Regions from separate parts of the Homo sapiens genome. Here regions 1, 2, 3, 4 and 5 are each linked to region 6. Evidence: promoter capture Hi-C in human tissues and cell types (Jung and others, 2019). All regions are on one chromosome and are shown on one strand. The core of a region is centred on a gene start or on the middle of the fragment in contact, and the rest is flanking DNA. Distances in the headings are between cores, read along the strand shown. Region 1 has its middle 75 kb from the start of CASC8. Region 2 has its middle 9.1 kb from the start of CCAT1. Region 3 overlaps CCAT1 (colon cancer associated transcript 1). Region 4 has its middle 78 kb from the start of CASC11. Region 5 has its middle 100 kb from the start of CASC8. Region 6 holds the start of POU5F1B (POU class 5 homeobox 1B).

What was found. The method cuts DNA at HindIII sites, captures the fragments that hold promoters and counts their contacts. A contact is called where the count stands out against the background at its distance.
Region 1: a contact is called between a fragment that was not itself captured here and the fragment with the promoter of POU5F1B in region 6, in 2 of the 25 tissues and cell types used here (mesendoderm cells and spleen).
Region 2: a contact is called between a fragment that was not itself captured here and the fragment with the promoter of POU5F1B in region 6, in 1 of the 25 tissues and cell types used here (aorta).
Region 3: a contact is called between a fragment that was not itself captured here and the fragment with the promoter of POU5F1B in region 6, in 1 of the 25 tissues and cell types used here (mesendoderm cells).
Region 4: a fragment that was not itself captured here is called in contact with the fragment with the promoter of POU5F1B in region 6 in 1 of the 25 tissues and cell types used here (mesendoderm cells).
Region 5: a contact is called between a fragment that was not itself captured here and the fragment with the promoter of POU5F1B in region 6, in 1 of the 25 tissues and cell types used here (liver).

Annotation. Positions count from the first base shown.
Region 1 is chr8:127,555,596-127,558,295 of GRCh38, forward strand. No RefSeq gene overlaps it. Among named protein-coding and RNA genes, the nearest start is that of CASC8, 75 kb to the left of the region's middle. The HindIII fragment of the contact is 4,006 bases long and covers 1-2,700 here.
Region 2 is chr8:127,226,972-127,229,671 of GRCh38, forward strand. No RefSeq gene overlaps it. Among named protein-coding and RNA genes, the nearest start is that of CCAT1, 9.1 kb to the left of the region's middle. The HindIII fragment of the contact is 3,791 bases long and covers 1-2,700 here.
Region 3 is chr8:127,208,195-127,210,894 of GRCh38, forward strand. CCAT1 (colon cancer associated transcript 1) reads right to left here. Exons shown (of 2, transcript NR_108049.1): 2 at 1-1,523. Among named protein-coding and RNA genes, the nearest start is that of CCAT1, 9.7 kb to the right of the region's middle. RefSeq lists silencers at 35-224, 715-854, enhancers at 1,775-1,894, 2,051-2,700 and a cis regulatory region at 2,430-2,449. The HindIII fragment of the contact is 9,493 bases long and covers 1-2,700 here.
Region 4 is chr8:127,654,813-127,657,512 of GRCh38, forward strand. No RefSeq gene overlaps it. Among named protein-coding and RNA genes, the nearest start is that of CASC11, 78 kb to the right of the region's middle. The HindIII fragment of the contact is 8,143 bases long and covers 1-2,700 here.
Region 5 is chr8:127,583,208-127,585,907 of GRCh38, forward strand. No RefSeq gene overlaps it. Among named protein-coding and RNA genes, the nearest start is that of CASC8, 100 kb to the left of the region's middle. The HindIII fragment of the contact is 7,724 bases long and covers 1-2,700 here.
Region 6 is chr8:127,414,425-127,417,124 of GRCh38, forward strand. POU5F1B (POU class 5 homeobox 1B) reads left to right here and starts at 1,443. Exons shown (of 1, transcript NM_001159542.3): 1 at 1,443-2,522. The coding sequence starts at 1,443. The coding sequence ends at 2,522. All of the region lies in intron 5 of CASC8 (cancer susceptibility 8), which reads right to left. The HindIII fragment of the contact is 11,415 bases long and covers 1-2,700 here.

The DNA.
Region 1 (2,700 bases), core at 104-2,603, 140 kb after region 6:
AACAATGAGAACACTTGGACACAGGAACGGGAACATCACACACTGGGGCCTGTCATGGGGTGGGTGAGGGGGAGATAACATTAAGAGATATGCCTAATGTAAATGACGAGTTAATGGGTGCAGCACACCAACATGGCGCATGCATACATAAGTAACAAACCTGCGCGTTGTACACATGTACCCTAGAACATGAAATATATCAAAAAAATAAAATAAATAAAAGAAAATGAACATATTCATTCAATGCACAATGAAATGAAAAAAAAAAATTATTGTGCCTAAGTCAAGACAATGATTCTTCTTTGGGCTTCATTCAGAGTTGGAACTTCTCACCTCTCCCAGGCTCAGGGAAGATGCAGACCTCGGATCCTGTAAGATGCTGTGGATATTTGCTCTATTTTGTGGCCCAACTTGCCTTTCTGCTTTATCTCCCCCTAAAGAGCCAGACTTGGATCCTGACTATTCCAGAGTTAGGCTTATGGAAAGAGGAATTAGAGGAGAATGTGGACACCTGGTCAATTGGTACTGTCACTATCCAGCTTTGGTGCTCTCCAGAACTGGAGGTAGTAAAGGCTGACTGTTTCTTCCAAGAGGTGCTTTGAAACTTTTCTCAGAGATTCCCCACCAGGAACTTTAACTTATTTTCTCATAGTCACTGTTTTTTCTCCTGGGATTGCCTCTAACATCAACCCTCAACCTTGGCATTTGGTGGTCCACTTCATAGAGACACTTTCTTTTTGGTGTCCCATTTAACCTCTGGGAAGACCACATGAGCTTCATCTCATTTCTGCTCATGAGAGAGACCCCAGCAAATTTTAGTACCACAATTGATGGAAATATTCACCGCAAATGTCAGTCCTTTCTCTCTTCTATGCAGCCCCAATGAAGAAGCCACAGAGTTGCTATTCAGATTTCTCAGGAAAAGTCAAATAACTGTCCACTGGGTTCCCTAAACCCTAGGGGGTGAATATCAAACTCTTTAAGTGGTCCTTGAAGCCACTCTCACCATGCAGGGGGTGGGAAGGAAATTTCTACAGAACTCCACAACCCGGCCCCACACATCGTCTTGTTAGATCAGCTATTTTAAATCCTAAAGCAGTAGTCAGCAAAGCTTTTCTGTAAAAGGCCTGATAGTAAATTATTTAAGCTTTGCAGGCAAAACAGTCTCAGTAGCAATTCTCAACTCTGCATTGTTTTTAAAAAAGAAAAGAGCAATGGGCTATGCTTAAGCAAATGGGTGTGGCTGTGTTCCAATATAACTTTATTTATGAAAACAGATAGCAGGCAGGATTCAGCCTGTGGGCTCTAGTTTGACTCTCTAAAGGTAGGTGATGACCCAATATTCTGATTTTCAGCCTTCCCATTGCAAGGCCCGTCAAGATGGGGTAGCACTTCCCTTGGAAGACAGAGGTTCTTTCTTTATTGATTTTTCTTGCTGAAGTCAGAGAGACAGAAATGGTCTCATTTTTAACATCCTATTAAACACAAACACACACACACACAGAGAGAGAGAGAGAGAGAGAGACAGAGAGAGAGACAGAGAGAGAGACAGAGAGAGAGAGGGGAGAAAGAAAGAAAAATGACAGAAACAAAGAAAGAAATTAGTAAAGACATTTTGAAAAAATGTGCTGCGTGTTAAGAATGAAATTCCCTATAGTATTTCTGAGATGACTGGTCATGCAGGTGGCTGGGTCTTTCAACTGTAACATGTGGTGGGAGGAAACCAGAGTAGCCCAATTTTATCTGAGATGTAATAGGTTCTCTTTTCCTCATTTTATAGTTGGAAAAAACTAGTACTATAGAGATCAAATAACCTGTCTTTGGTCCCACAGTTAGTAAGAGACAGAACCAGGATTTAATTCGTTTTCCATGACCACCAAATGCTACGTAGATTTTTCTTAGGTAGATTATTGTACTTGTTTTCTATTACTGCTGTAACAAATCATCATAAATTTAGTTGCTTACAGCGACATAAATTTATTATACCACAGTTTTAGAAGTCAGAAGTCCAAATGGGTTTCACTGGGCTAAAGTCAAGATGAGATGTCAGCAGGGCTTTATTCCTTCTAGAGACTCTAAGAAATAATCTATTTTATTTCCTTGCCTTTCCAGTTCCTAGAGGCCACCTGCATTCCTTAGATTGTAGCACCTTTCTCTGTCTTCAAAACCAACAGTGTAGCATCTCCTGTGATGGTTAATACTGAGTGTCAACTTGATTGGGTTCAAGGATGCAAAGTACTGATCCTGGGTGTGCCTGTGAGGGTGTTGCCAAAGGAGACTAACATTTGAGTCAGTGGGCTGGGGAAGGCAGACCCACCCTTAACCTAGTGGGCACAATCTAATCAGCTGCTGGTGAATATAAAGCAAGCAGAAAAATGTGAAAAGGTGAGACTGGCCTAGCCTCTCAGCCTACATCTTTCTCCCATGCTGGATGCTTCCTGCCCTCAAACATCGGACTCCAAGTTCTTCATTTTTGAGACATGGACTGGCTCTCCTTGCTCCTCAAGCTTGCAGACAGCCTATTGTGGAACTTTGTGATTGTGTGAGTTAATACTTAATAAACTCCCATATATATATATTTATATTCTATTATTTCTGTCCCTCTAGGGAACCCTAATATATCTCATGACTTCTCTTGTCCCTCTGTTGCCATTGTTATGTATGTCACTTTCTATCTGACTCTAAGTCTCTTGTCTTCCT
Region 2 (2,700 bases), core at 118-2,617, 190 kb before region 6:
GAAAGCCCTCAAAGCAGAAAGAGCAAAGCTGCATGGTGTGAAGACTGCATGTGATTCAGGAACCGTGAGCAATGGTAGACTCGTGCCAAAGCACAGTGTGTAAGGAAGACAAGGCTGGAAACGTATGCTGAGGTCTGACTGTGAGAGTTTGAAGCCCCACTGAGAGGTCTGCACGAATTAAGAATTTCAGAGAAACATGATTAGTTCTACAATTGGAAAAATAATTCTGGTGCTAAGAACTAGTAAGGTATAAGATAAGCCTAATCACGGAGTGATTTGAAGTTGAAAAGAGTTTATAAGTTATTCTTTAAGAAATCTCTGTTATTGAGGTGTGAGGCAGAGCCAGTACATAATGTCTACGTTCTGAACCAACTGAACGGGGAAACAAAAGGCTAACATTAATATCAGACATTTGTAGAGCATTTACCTTGTGCCAGGCAACATTCTGGATGCTTTATGTACATTAGCTCATTGAATCATTTCAATTCAATCATTCAACGCAGGGGTTTGAATCTTAGCTGTTTGAGGTCATTGTCCATGCACTCACCTATAACATTGTTCTGTCTCTTTCTGCAAATGTAAGATAAAAATATTACCTTCATTCTAGAAAACACCCCTTTGTAGAATAGGTTTATACCTTCAGGCATGTGGACTTTCCAATCCAAACTCCAGGAGTAGACAGATACCCACCAGGACTAGGCAATGCAGGAAAATCTCAGGCTTCAGCTAGGACTGTTTCATACAATTTCCTGCATGGCCAGGAACAAGGGTGAAGGCATGCACTCTGTGAGCAGCCCATTTGTGGACAGTGGGTCATGGGACTGAAGGAACCATGTTACACATGCCTGAGTTTTCTTTCCAAGCTCAGAAACCATATCGAACACCCCTCCCTTGGGGAGAAGTGAGTGAGCAGGTGGAGAGACGATAGTAATGTTAGTATGGTGGAACTTCTTCCCCATAGATGGAAACACTGAGGGCTAAGAAGAAGGGCCTCTCCTCCAACATGTGTTATCTAGCAAGGCTGGTTCTATTTAAGAATGATATATAGTCTAGTGTAATAGAATACAATATGCCTAGCTCTAAAATTATGTTGGAAAAAAATCAACATTACGATGTGCTATATTCAGTCAATGAGTAAATATTTCTGTGCCTGCCACATGCTCAGCATTATAATTAGAGCCACCGTGAAAAATACTTATCCGTGATCCTTTATGCTGTCAAAGCCTAAATTCCCCACTTAACCAAGAATCCTGGATAATTCCCAAAAAACAAATTTATTATTTGTTTCTATGGTTGTGTGTTTGTCAAAAATTGAAGCATTAATAGAAATAAGAACAATTTAGACTATAAAAGCCATAGGCTTATAAAAATGCTAGCATCAGCACATTCCAAAACTGCCTGCCCCATCCCTTGATGGTATGTGTGATTGCTGTCACAAAACTAGCAGTTAGAATCTTTTGTAACTGAGGATATAAACCAAATTTAGAAATATGTCTTTACTAAAGGGTGGAAACTTAGAAACTGAAGTGGATTTACCACAATGAACTAGAACTAAATGTACCAACACAGGCTCAAAACACTCTAAGATAATTTTTCAAATTTATTTAAAATTAAGAAAAGAAAACTGGGTAACATTGAATCACAAACAGTTGAAAACACTGGGGTTACATAGTATTAACATATAATTACATGATCATTTGTGATAAACAGAAAATTTAAAAAAAGAAAAAGGAGAAAAAAATAAAAAATAAAGAAAAACAAAAAACAAAAAAATAGAAAATGAAATGAGAAAAAAATTGATCAATGGCAAATCACTGGAGATAAATCATTGTGTACAGATTTCCCTATTGAAAAAAATAACAATAATTAAACACCAGCTAAGCCTTCTTTCTTCTTTTGATTTTTGTGAAAAATCGCAATAAGATGTATCTCTAGATCGTGTGCTTGCCAGAATCTTTGCTGTTTCTTAGGTGAAAGATCATTGATAAGAATCTGGCATGGAGAACAGTCAAGGAAGCATTGCAGCTCAATACAAAACGGTGGCCAGGGAAGATCCACTGAATTAGGAGTCAGCAGTCATTATTCTACTACCTGCTAATCTTCTATGAGCTTCGTCAAGTCATTTAAGCTTGGTACCCGTCAGTTTCCTCATCTGAAAACTGAGAAAAGTTGTTTCAAATTGTCTAAGTCCATTCCAGCTTGATCATACTAGCATCTTATGTGCAGCTTCTTAAAGTCCAGCTCACACCTCTGTCAACTCCCTGTATAATATGACTTCCAAAAAAACACCTGTGGTTTGGTTATACATATATATGGACATATATATGTTATACATATATATTGGTTATACCTATATATGGACATATATAGGTCCACTCTTCTCATATCCACAGCTGCTATCAATATAATAAATGGGCAGTATCTGTAGTATCACTTATTAATAAAATGAAGTTTTTCTGACATATACACAACCCAGACTATTAGGTCATTATCTCAATAATCCCTTAGTGTAGGGAAAAGGGCAGAAAACACTTTCATTTTCTGTCTTGAGCATTAGCAAGCCACAGTCCATATAATTTAATTAAAATAACAAATGAATAATCTATAATTGACCTGTGTCTGTTTCTCCAAGCCAAAGGGTAAGTCAGATATACATGATTTTAAAATCTCTTGTTATTTTCAATATAAATTGTTCGGCTA
Region 3 (2,700 bases), core at 46-2,545, 210 kb before region 6:
ACTCCCATCTAGGGGTGATGGGAGACGGTGACAGGTCATTAGGCATTAGATTCTCATAAGGAGCGCACAACCTAGATCCCTCGCATGTGCAGTTCATGACAGGGTTTGTGCTGCTATGAGAATTTAATGCCACTGCTGATCTGACAGGAGGTGGAGCTCAGGCAGTAAGGTGAGCAATGGGGAGCAGCTGTAAATAACGCTGATCTCACTCACCCACTGCTCACCTCCTGCTGTGTGGCCCAGTTCCTAACAGGCCACAAAATGGTACCTGTCTGTGTCCCCAGGGTTGGGGACCACTGCCTTAAAGGCCTTCATCTCATTCAGTTTTCATCAAAATTCTGTGTGGTAGGTACTCTCATTAGACCCATTTTATGGGTAAGGAACTGAGGTAAAATTGGTTATATAACTTGCCTAAAATAAGTCAAGTCTCTGATGAGAGGGCCAGGATTCAAGTTCAAGCAGTCTGACTCCAAAATCTCAAAGCACTTCTGTGGTAGGAAAGAGAAATGAATGGAATGGCATAGAGTCATCTAAATGACTGCAGTAGGAAGGGAGCATTTCCCGTGTGCAGTGTTATTTTTTCCGGGCTTTGAAAGATAAATAGGAGCATGCAGTTAAAAAAGAGAGGAGAAGGCATTCTAGGCAGAAAGGCCAGTGCTTACACAGAATCTCAGAATTGTAACAGTTCCTATTACACCCTGGCAGAGTGATGCCAAGGCTGTTATTGTCAAGCACCCTCCTGCCTCCCAGTGGGGTTGAGAAGGGGTGAAGGGACACTGGCAGAAGTGAAGCTGGGAAGTTTGCACTTGCTAGTTGGGACTTGCATAGCCATCTTCTCAATGCCAAAGAGGACCTCAGTCTCTGTGTGCGCTTTGTTTTTTGTTGTTGTTGTTGTTGTTGATTTGTGGCCCAGGCTAGAGTGCGGTGGTGTGATCTCTGCTCACTGCAACCTCCATCTCCCAGGTTCAAGGGATTCTCCTGCCTCCAGACTCCCAAGTAGCTTGGATTACAGGCGCCCGCCACCACACCTGGATAATTTTTATACTTTTAGTAGGGGTGGAGTTTCACCGTGTTGGCCAGGCTGGTCTGTGTGTGCTTTGGATTTGAGACACTCTGATGATTTAGAGTTGAAAATGGGAGTAGATTGGGTGATTCTCTAGTTATCATGTTTAGTCAAATCAGATCCGTGCATTCAAAATCATAAGGCAAGTTTTCCTGTGTGGCTCAGTAACATCCTTAAAGAAATAGTTCTGATGTCCATCCGGTGTTTTTTCAGAAAGAGCGTCAGGGTTGACAGTAGCTGTGATGCTCCAGATGGAGCTGCGGATAACAGCATATAAGTTTCAGGGCAGTGGTTGAGGGGCTGTGGGAGGGTGGGGAGGGAAGATGGATGACTTTTCTCAACCATCTGTATTTGATTGGAATATTGTGTGACTTGTGAAATAGAATTAAAGATATGATCTTCTTATGGTCTTCTCACAGTTTTCAAGGGATTTTAGGAGAAAACGCTTAGCCATACAGAGCTGTGGACAAGAAAATCACCTATCAGAACATATTTATCTAGAAAAGGAAAATTTAAACAGTCAAATAGAAGAGTTATTAGCTTTCTTTTTCCTTCTCTCTAAGAAGGTTAGTTAGAATCAGCTTTCTTACTCACTACATCCTGTACTTAGAAAGGAATAACCTGCACATGACACGTTCAAAAAATCACCTTTGCATTCTGAACCTAGCTGGGAAATTATGACAACAATGAAGAGATATGTGGGCGTCCTCACATTTTGTGTCTTAAAATGTCCAGCTCTCAAGGTGAAATATTTTCCCCCATGAAATCCCCATTGAAAACAGAAACCAGAACTATGATCTAAAAGAAAAATATCTATTTGAATATTTCTACTTGTGAACTGACATTTTTAGCTATTTTAGTACCTTTTTTTGGTGACTGAAGCATAGCAAATAGAGTTTTGTTTCCTTCCCACAGATATCAGATTTCTTCAAACAGTACATAGAATGGTGCACATTACAAGGCATTTACCACACAAAAAAACAAAGGCACTGGAGGAAATAAGGGTTGGGGGAGAGGGAGGAAATGGTAGGTACCATCTCACATGGGGATATAGTTCTCACAGATCACCAGGTAGGGTCATGTGATCTGCGTGAGTTTCCTAAGGGAGAGAGGGGCTCTCCTTTTGTTCGTGTTGGCTGCATCACTGCATTTCATTAATTCTGAATGGCAAGTGAGCAAGACCCTCGCTGCTGAAATCTGATCAGATGTTATTGATGAATCATGGAATTCCAGAGTTAGGAGCTGGAAAGAAGGTCAAGAGGACATCTGAGTCAGTGTCTGACTAGTAGCAGGTGATGGGTTATGATGTCAGTTTTGGAACCGGACAACTAAGGCCCAAAGGTGTTCAGGCATCCTCTTCTGGTCCAAAGGTCAGCTCCAGGGACCAGGCTGCAGGTCTCTGACAGCAGAGGATAATTCTCTTTCTGTATCACACATGCCGCCTCAACTAACCAGCATGAACATAAAATCTGCATTGTAGCCAAGTCTATAGCTGTGGAAAACACAGAGTTCCTTCCCACACCCACTTTTGAAGAGTTTACTATAAATGTGTGGCAGATCATCACCCCTGGGGCTTAGCTTTGGGATTTCCTAAATCTCAGAGCAACGTAAGCACAACGGCCCCACTTTGCATACCT
Region 4 (2,700 bases), core at 130-2,629, 240 kb after region 6:
TCTAAAACCTATAGAAGAAAACAGGAGAAAATCTTCATGACCTTGGGTTTTGCAAAGATTTCTTACATATGATGCAAAAGCATTAAAAAAATAGAATGATAAATGGAACTTCATCAAAATTAGCACTTCTTCTGGGCACAGTGGCTCAGGCCTGTAATCCCAGCACTTTAGGAGGCCAGTCAGGTGGATCACTTCAGACCAGGAGTTTAAGACCAGCCTGGCCAACATGGCAAAACTCTGTCTCTACTAAAAATGCAAACATTAGCTGGGTATGCCTATGCATGCCTGTAGTCTCAGCTAGTCAGGAGGCTGAGGCACAAGAATCACTTGGACCCAGGAGGCGGAGGTTGCAGTGAGCTGAGATCAAACCACTGCACTCCAGCCTGGGCAACACAGCAATATTCTGTCTGAAGAAAAAAAAATCCACTTATCAAAAGATACAAGCACAGACTGAAAGAAAGTCCTTATAAGTGACATATCTGAAAAAGAATTTATATCTAGAATATATGAAGAATCCTCAAAACTCAACAATAAGAAAATTAAAAACTCAATAAGAAATTGGCAAAAGATTTAAACATGATTTAAACAGATACTCCAACAAAGAAGATATGTGGATGGCACATAAGCACATAAAATATGCTAGGCCAGGTGCAGTGACTCACACCTGTAATCTCAGCACTTTGGGAGGCCAAGGTGGGCAAATTGCTTAAGCTCAGGAGTTTGAGACTAGCTTGGGCAACATGACAAAACCTCGTCTCTACGAAAAATACAAAAAATACTACAGGCATGATGGCACGTGCCTGTAGTCTCAGCTACACAAGAGGTTAAGGTAGCAGGATCTCCTGAGCCTGGGAGGTCAAGGTCACAGTGAGTCAAGACTGTACCACTGCACTCCAGCCTCATGACAGAGTAAGACTGTCTCAGAAAAAAAAAAAAAAAAAAAAGATCAACATCATTAATCATTAGGAAATGTACGCTAACACAGTGAGATGCCGCTACACATGTATTAGGAAAGCTAAAATTAAAAAGTCTGACCACACAAAGTGTTGGCAAAGATGTGAAGCAATTAGACCTTTCATATGCTGCTGCTGGGAATGTTAAAACGGCACCATCACTTTGGAAAACAGTTTGGCAGCTTCTTTAAAAGTTAAATACATACCTACCTCATCATCCAGCCATTCTTCTAGATATTTACAAACAAAAAAAAAAACTGAAAACAGGGCCAGACATGGTGGCTCATACCTGTAATACCAGCACTTTGGGAGGCCTAGGCAGGTGGATCACCTGTCAGGAGTTTGAGACCACCGTGGCTAACATGATGAAACCCCGTCTCTACTAAAAATACAAAAATTAGCTGGGCATGGTGGTGCACATCAGTAATCTCAGCTACTCAAGAGGCTGAGACAGGAAAGTCACTGAAACCCCTGGAGGCGGAGGTTGCAGTAAGCTGAGATCATGCCACTGCACTTCAGCCTGGGTGATAAGAGCAAGACTCCATCTTAAAAAATAAATAAATAATTTTTTTAAAAAAGGAAACATATGTCCATGCAAAGACTTCTACGTGAATGCTTATAGACACTTTATTTGTCATATTCAAAAGCTAAAAGCAACCACATGTCTATCCCTGGGCGAATGAATAAATGTATTGTGGTATATCCGTACAATGAAATACCAACTCAGAAATAAGTAAAAGAGCCAGACAAAAAGAGTTCACTCTGTATGCTTCCATTTATATAAGATTTTACAAAATGTAAACTAACATATGGTGGGGAAAGGGTGCAACAACAGAAGTCACTACAAAGGGACACAGGATGCTTTTGGGGGTGATAGATATGTTCATTATCTTGATTGTGGGGATGGATTTGTGGATGTATACATATGTAAAAACACCAAATCGTATACTTTAAATACATCAGCTTACTGTGTGTCCATTATACCTCAGTAAAGTTGATTTAAAAAGAAAGATGCGGCCGGGCATGGTGGCTCAACACTGTAATCCCAGCACTTTGGGAGGCCGAGGTGGGCAGATCACCTGAGGTAGGGAGTTCAAGACCAGCCTGACCAACATGGAGAAACCCCGTCTCTACTAAAAATACAAAATTAGCTGAGAGTGGTGGTGGGTGCCTGTAATCCCAGCTACTCGGGAGGCTGAGGCAGGAGAATTGCTTGAACCTGGGAGGTGGAGGTTGTGGTGAGCCGAGATCACGCCATTGCACTCCAGCCTGGGCAACAAGAGTGAAACTCTGTCTTAAAAAACATATATATATGAAGAAAGATTCCTGATATACTGAAAAAGTGTCAAGATGGGGGAAAAAAAACAAAAGCAATGAGATACAGAAGAAGAGATATAGGGGAGACTTGAATCCCAAGTGCTCTAAGAGCAGACAAATGCTGCTAATCACTTTATCACCCAAAACTGGACTTCAGTCTACCAGAGTTCAGGCAGATGGAAAGTAGACTGAGAAAATGCTGAAAACAAATTGATGTGCTATAAACTGGAATAAAATTCAAAGTATTTGCACAAAGCTGTTCTACACAGAGAGCTGTATGATTCTAAAAATTTAATTACTTACTTAGAAAATAACACACAATACACACACACACACACACACACACACACACACACACACACACGAGCTTAAAAACAGTGCCAGTAACTGGTATGACAAGAGATGAATACATTTAAAACCAACCCAATGT
Region 5 (2,700 bases), core at 19-2,518, 170 kb after region 6:
AAGCACTGGAAATTTTCAAGATGTATAAAATGTAGCTATTGCTTACTAAACAGTTCTGGAGCAGAAAGAGTTTTATGGGGGAAAGCCTGGGTCTTGGTGATAGGCTTGGAATCAAATCTTGCCACTTATTAAGCTGTGTGGCCCTGACCACGTTCCTTAATCCTTCTGAAGCTCTGTGTTCCTGTGCTTAGAATGGAGTTAATAATACTTATCTCACAGAACTGGTGTGCAGAAGTCATGAATATTAACATCTAGCAGTCTCTGCACCATAATAAGGAAGACTCAAATTCCTTCTCCTTCCCCTCCTCCCAGAAGTTACAAAAAGTTTAAATCAAATTGCAGACACCAAAAGTGTACCTTCTACCAAAGGTTTGTTGGTCCCAGGAAAGGGTTAATTGTTTAGTTTAGAGTCTTAGATATGTGTTCGCTAGATTAGAGGCAATTCCAGAAATCCACTCCCAGATGATTAAATTAGGGTGAGGAAAAACGGTGAGGCCGATTTGGCTGTGGCTTCGGGCTACTTGATGGTAATTTGACTAGGTTAACACAAACTGCAGCACACAGAGATTTGGCAGGCTACAAAAGCTGGTAGACGTGAAAGTTCTGGTGAGCTTTTTGGCAGAATCCTCCCTGTTTTCCCTGATCAAAGGAGAAAACCAGAAGGCCATGTGTCCAAGCTGCTTGATCTTCCTGAGCAGCCTTAAAGTTCCTGTTCCTGACCAGCCAATGTTTTCTCTGTTGTCCCTATAAAATCAAAAGCAGACTCCCCTGTGACACCGGAAGCCAGAACCCAACAGACTGGAAGTGAAGAATTCAGATTTTACAAATGCTCCCAGCATTGTCTCTGCATTTTGCCTTTTGCAGGAACACCCTGTGGTATTCTTCTTCCAAACTCAAACACATATGCCTTTCCCTTACATTTTCCATCTTTTTACCCTTCCATTAGCAGTTTGCAAACACTGCTATTGCAATTCTCCTCCCCGATGTATTATTCCATTCTCACGTTGTTATAAAGAACTGCCCAAGACTGGGCAATTTATAAAAGAAAGAGATTTAATTGACACGGTTTCACAGAACTGGGGAGGCCTCAGGAAACTTACAATGGTGGCAGAAGGGGAAGCAAACACATTCTTCTTTACGTGATGTCAGGAGAGAGAAATGCCAAGCAAAGGGGGAAAAGCCCCTTATAAAACCATCAGATCTCGTGAGAATTCACTCACTATCATGAGAACAGCAGCATGGGGGTAACTGTCCCCAAGATTCAATTACCTCCCACTGAATCCCTCCTATGACACTTGAGGATTATGGGAACTACAATTCAAGATGACATTTGGTTGGGGACACAGCCAAACCATATCACATGAGCTAATAAAGACAGAGTCATCTATAATGTCTCTCACACATCTTTTCCTCATCTCTTTGTCCCTGGTTCCCAGCAGAATGTCTGGTACTTTCATCCATTTATTCATTCAGTCAATATTTATGGCGTATCTGTTGTTTTCCAGGCACGGTACTTTACCCCTTGTGCATACTTAGTGCCTGCCACATAGAAGATAATCCACTGAATAATTGTTGAAGTAAATTAAGCTTATTTAGAGCCCACCCACCCTAATGAACTGGGTTGTAGATAATACGTTAGCAAAATTCCAGTGGGCCATGCATTCTCAGATATCCTGAGCAAAATGTATCATCTCATATGGAAGCTCATATCACTACCTCAAATCCTCACCATGAAAGCAATTTTAGAGTTCACTTAGACCACTGGATCCCAAATGTGGATCCCTAGGTGATTCTGATGCCAGAGTTGAAACCAGTCCAACCTCCCAACCAAAAATCATCTCCTTGCTACAGCTTCTCCAATGCAATTGGATAGTAGGTTCCAATGCCCTTCACATAATACCCAGCCACCTTACCAGGACCAACAAGGACCCGTAGGATCTGGTCCCTACCTGCTCTCATTGCCTAGTGCTCTGTCCCTCTGCTCACTACACCAGCCACACTGAGCTTCTCTCTGCTCCTGAGTGCACCAAGCTACTTCCAACCTCCAGGCCTTTGTCCTTTCTGGTCCTTCTGATCACTCAGGTCACACCTCAGAGGTTATTGTCTCAGAAATACCTTCTCTAGCCACCCAGTAAAGCACAATCTATTACACACACACGCACATAAAACACACACACACACACACACACAATACAGTCATTCTTTTACATTCCCTTTTATTGGGACAATGGCACCCATCACTAGCTACAATTACCTTTGTATCTGTCTGTTCACTTATTTATTGTCTGTCTCCACTACTAGGATGGAAATTTCATGAAGGCAGAGATCTTGGCCGGGTGCAGTGGCTCACACCTGTAATCCCGGCATCTTGTGAGTCCGAGGCAGGAGGATCACGAGGTCAGGAGTTCAAGACCAGCCTGGCCAAGATGGTGAAACCCTGACTCTACTAAAAATCCAAAAATTAGCCAGGCGTGGTGGTGGCTGCCTGTAAGCCCAGCTACTCTGGAGGCTGAGGCAGAGAATTGCTTGAATCTGGGAGGCAGAGGTTGCAGTGAGCCAAAATTGCACCACTGCACTCCAGCCTGGGCAACAGAGTGAGACTCCGTCTCAAAAAAAAAAAAAAAAAAAAAGAAAGAAAGAAAACAAGCAGAGATCTTTCATGTCTTTTTCACTACTGCATCTATGTCTAGTACATAGTAA
Region 6 (2,700 bases), core at 193-2,692:
AACAGAAAGGAGCCCACTGCTTAAACACTTACCTTGTGCCAGACATTGCACTAGGACTTTATTACCTGCAACCCATCCTGCAAAACTGTGAAGATTTGATATGATCATTCTCATTTTATGGTTGAGAAACAAGGGTTAAGGACATTAAAAATTTACTCAATGTTTAAACATTTGCCTGTCTTATTCTAAAGCCCCTTCTCTTTTCACAATCCCTTTAAGAAATGGACATCCAATATTTGAGTGGCAGAGGCAAAAACATGGCCTACCAGAACCATTATGATAGCTTTACAATATGCCCACCAATTATTTGATAGTCCTCCTGCCAAATGGTGAAGGCTAATTACCCTCCTACAGAATGTGACTCACTTCTAATGAATAAAATATGGCACAAGTAAAAGTGTGCGATTTCAGAGACTAGGTCATAAAGAACGCAGTGGCTTCTTCCCTGCTCTCTCTTTCTTAGGTCATTCTCTCTGGGTGAATCCAGCTGACATGTTGTGAGGACACTCAAGCAGCTTTATGGAAAAGCCCACATGGTGAGCAACTGAGGCCTCCTACCAACAGCCAACAAGAAACCGGGGCCTTTGCCAACAGCCAAGTAAGTGAGACATTTTGGAAAGTGGATCCTCCAGCCCCCGTTAGGCTCCCAGATGACAACATCCCCTGCTCTCATCTTGACCACAACCTCATGAAATACCCTTATCCAGGATACCCAGTTAAGCCACACCACAATTGCTATTTTACAAAACTGTGAGCTATGTGTTAGTTGTTTTTAAGCTATTAAGTTTTGAGGTGATCTATTACACAATGATAAACAACTAATACACCCATCCAGTGCTGAAGAAAGGGGTTGTCAGGAGGGTAGAATTTGCACTATTAAATCTTCATAGAGTGCTATTTCCCGTCACTACAGCACACTTGTCACCAACTATAAAGAATTAGGTCAGGGAATTTCTTTGGTTGCAGCCCATTTTGCCTTTGGTTGTTAATGGTAGAACCGTTTCCCCACAATCTGCAGGAAATAAGAATCAGAAAGAAGGACACACCATTCCATAGCACAGAACACAAGTAGATGGCTCCCATGAAGAATCTAGCATCATGGTATGGCAGAAGCAGAATGGACTCAGGAATCATGGTGCCTACACTGGAATTTCAGATCGGCCACTGACACAATGGACACATTATTCAACATTTCCAAATCTTGGCATTCTTATCCACAAAGTGAAGATAATAATTGTCAATTCACAGGTGATTATGATTTAAAGAGATTACTTTTGAAGAGTTCCTAACACATTCAGTCAACATTTAATGATGCTTCAGGCACTGTGTTCATTGCTAGTGAGCGTATGACACACACAGCCATACGGTCACAGAGCTTTCAATGAAAAGTAACATAATTGCTCATTTCACCAGGCCCCCGGCTTGGGGCGCCTTCCTTCCCCATGGCGGGACACCTGGCTTCGGATTTCGCCTTCTCGCCCCCTCCAGGCGGTGGGGGTGATGGGCCATGGGGGGCGGAGCCGGGCTGGGTTGATCCTCTGACCTGGCTAAGCTTCCAAGGCCCTCCTGGAGGGCCAGGAATCGGGCCGGGGGTTGGGCCAGGCTCTGAGGTGTGGGGGATTCCCCCTTGCCCCCCGCCGTATGAGTTATGTGGGGGGATGGCGTACTGTGGGCCTCAGGTTGGAGTGGGGCTAGTGCCCCAAGGCGGCTTGGAGACCTCTCAGCCTGAGAGCGAAGCAGGAGTCGGGGTGGAGAGCAACTCCAATGGGGCCTCCCCGGAACCCTGCACCGTCCCCCCTGGTGCCGTGAAGCTGGAGAAGGAGAAGCTAGAGCAAAACCCGGAGAAGTCCCAGGACATCAAAGCTCTGCAGAAAGAACTCGAGCAATTTGCCAAGCTCCTGAAGCAGAAGAGGATCACCCTGGGATATACACAGGCCGATGTGGGGCTCATCCTGGGGGTTCTATTTGGGAAGGTGTTCAGCCAAAAGACCATCTGCCGCTTTGAGGCTCTGCAGCTTAGCTTCAAGAACATGTGTAAGCTGCGGCCCTTGCTGCAGAAGTGGGTGGAGGAAGCTGACAACAATGAAAATCTTCAGGAGATATGCAAAGCAGAAACCCTCATGCAGGCCCGAAAGAGAAAGCGAACCAGTATCGAGAACCGAGTGAGAGGCAACCTGGAGAATTTGTTCCTGCAGTGCCCGAAACCCACACTGCAGATCAGCCACATCGCCCAGCAGCTTGGGCTCGAGAAGGATGTGGTCCGAGTGTGGTTCTGTAACCGGCGCCAGAAGGGCAAGCGATCAAGCAGCGACTATGCACAACGAGAGGATTTTGAGGCTGCTGGGTCTCCTTTCTCAGGGGGACCAGTGTCCTTTCCTCCGGCCCCAGGGCCCCATTTTGGTACCCCAGGCTATGGGAGCCCTCACTTCACTGCACTGTACTCCTCAGTCCCTTTCCCTGAGGGGGAAGTCTTTCCCCCAGTCTCCGTCATCACTCTGGGCTCTCCCATGCATTCAAACTGAGGTGCCTGCCCTTCTAGGAATGGGGAACAGGGGAGGGGAGGAGCTAGGGAAAGAGAACCTGGAGTTTGTGGCAGGGCTTTTGGGATTAAGTTCTTCATTCACTAAGGAAGGAATTGGGAACACTAAGGGTGGGGGCAGGGGAGTTTGGGGCAACTGGTTGGAGGGAAGGTGAAGTTCA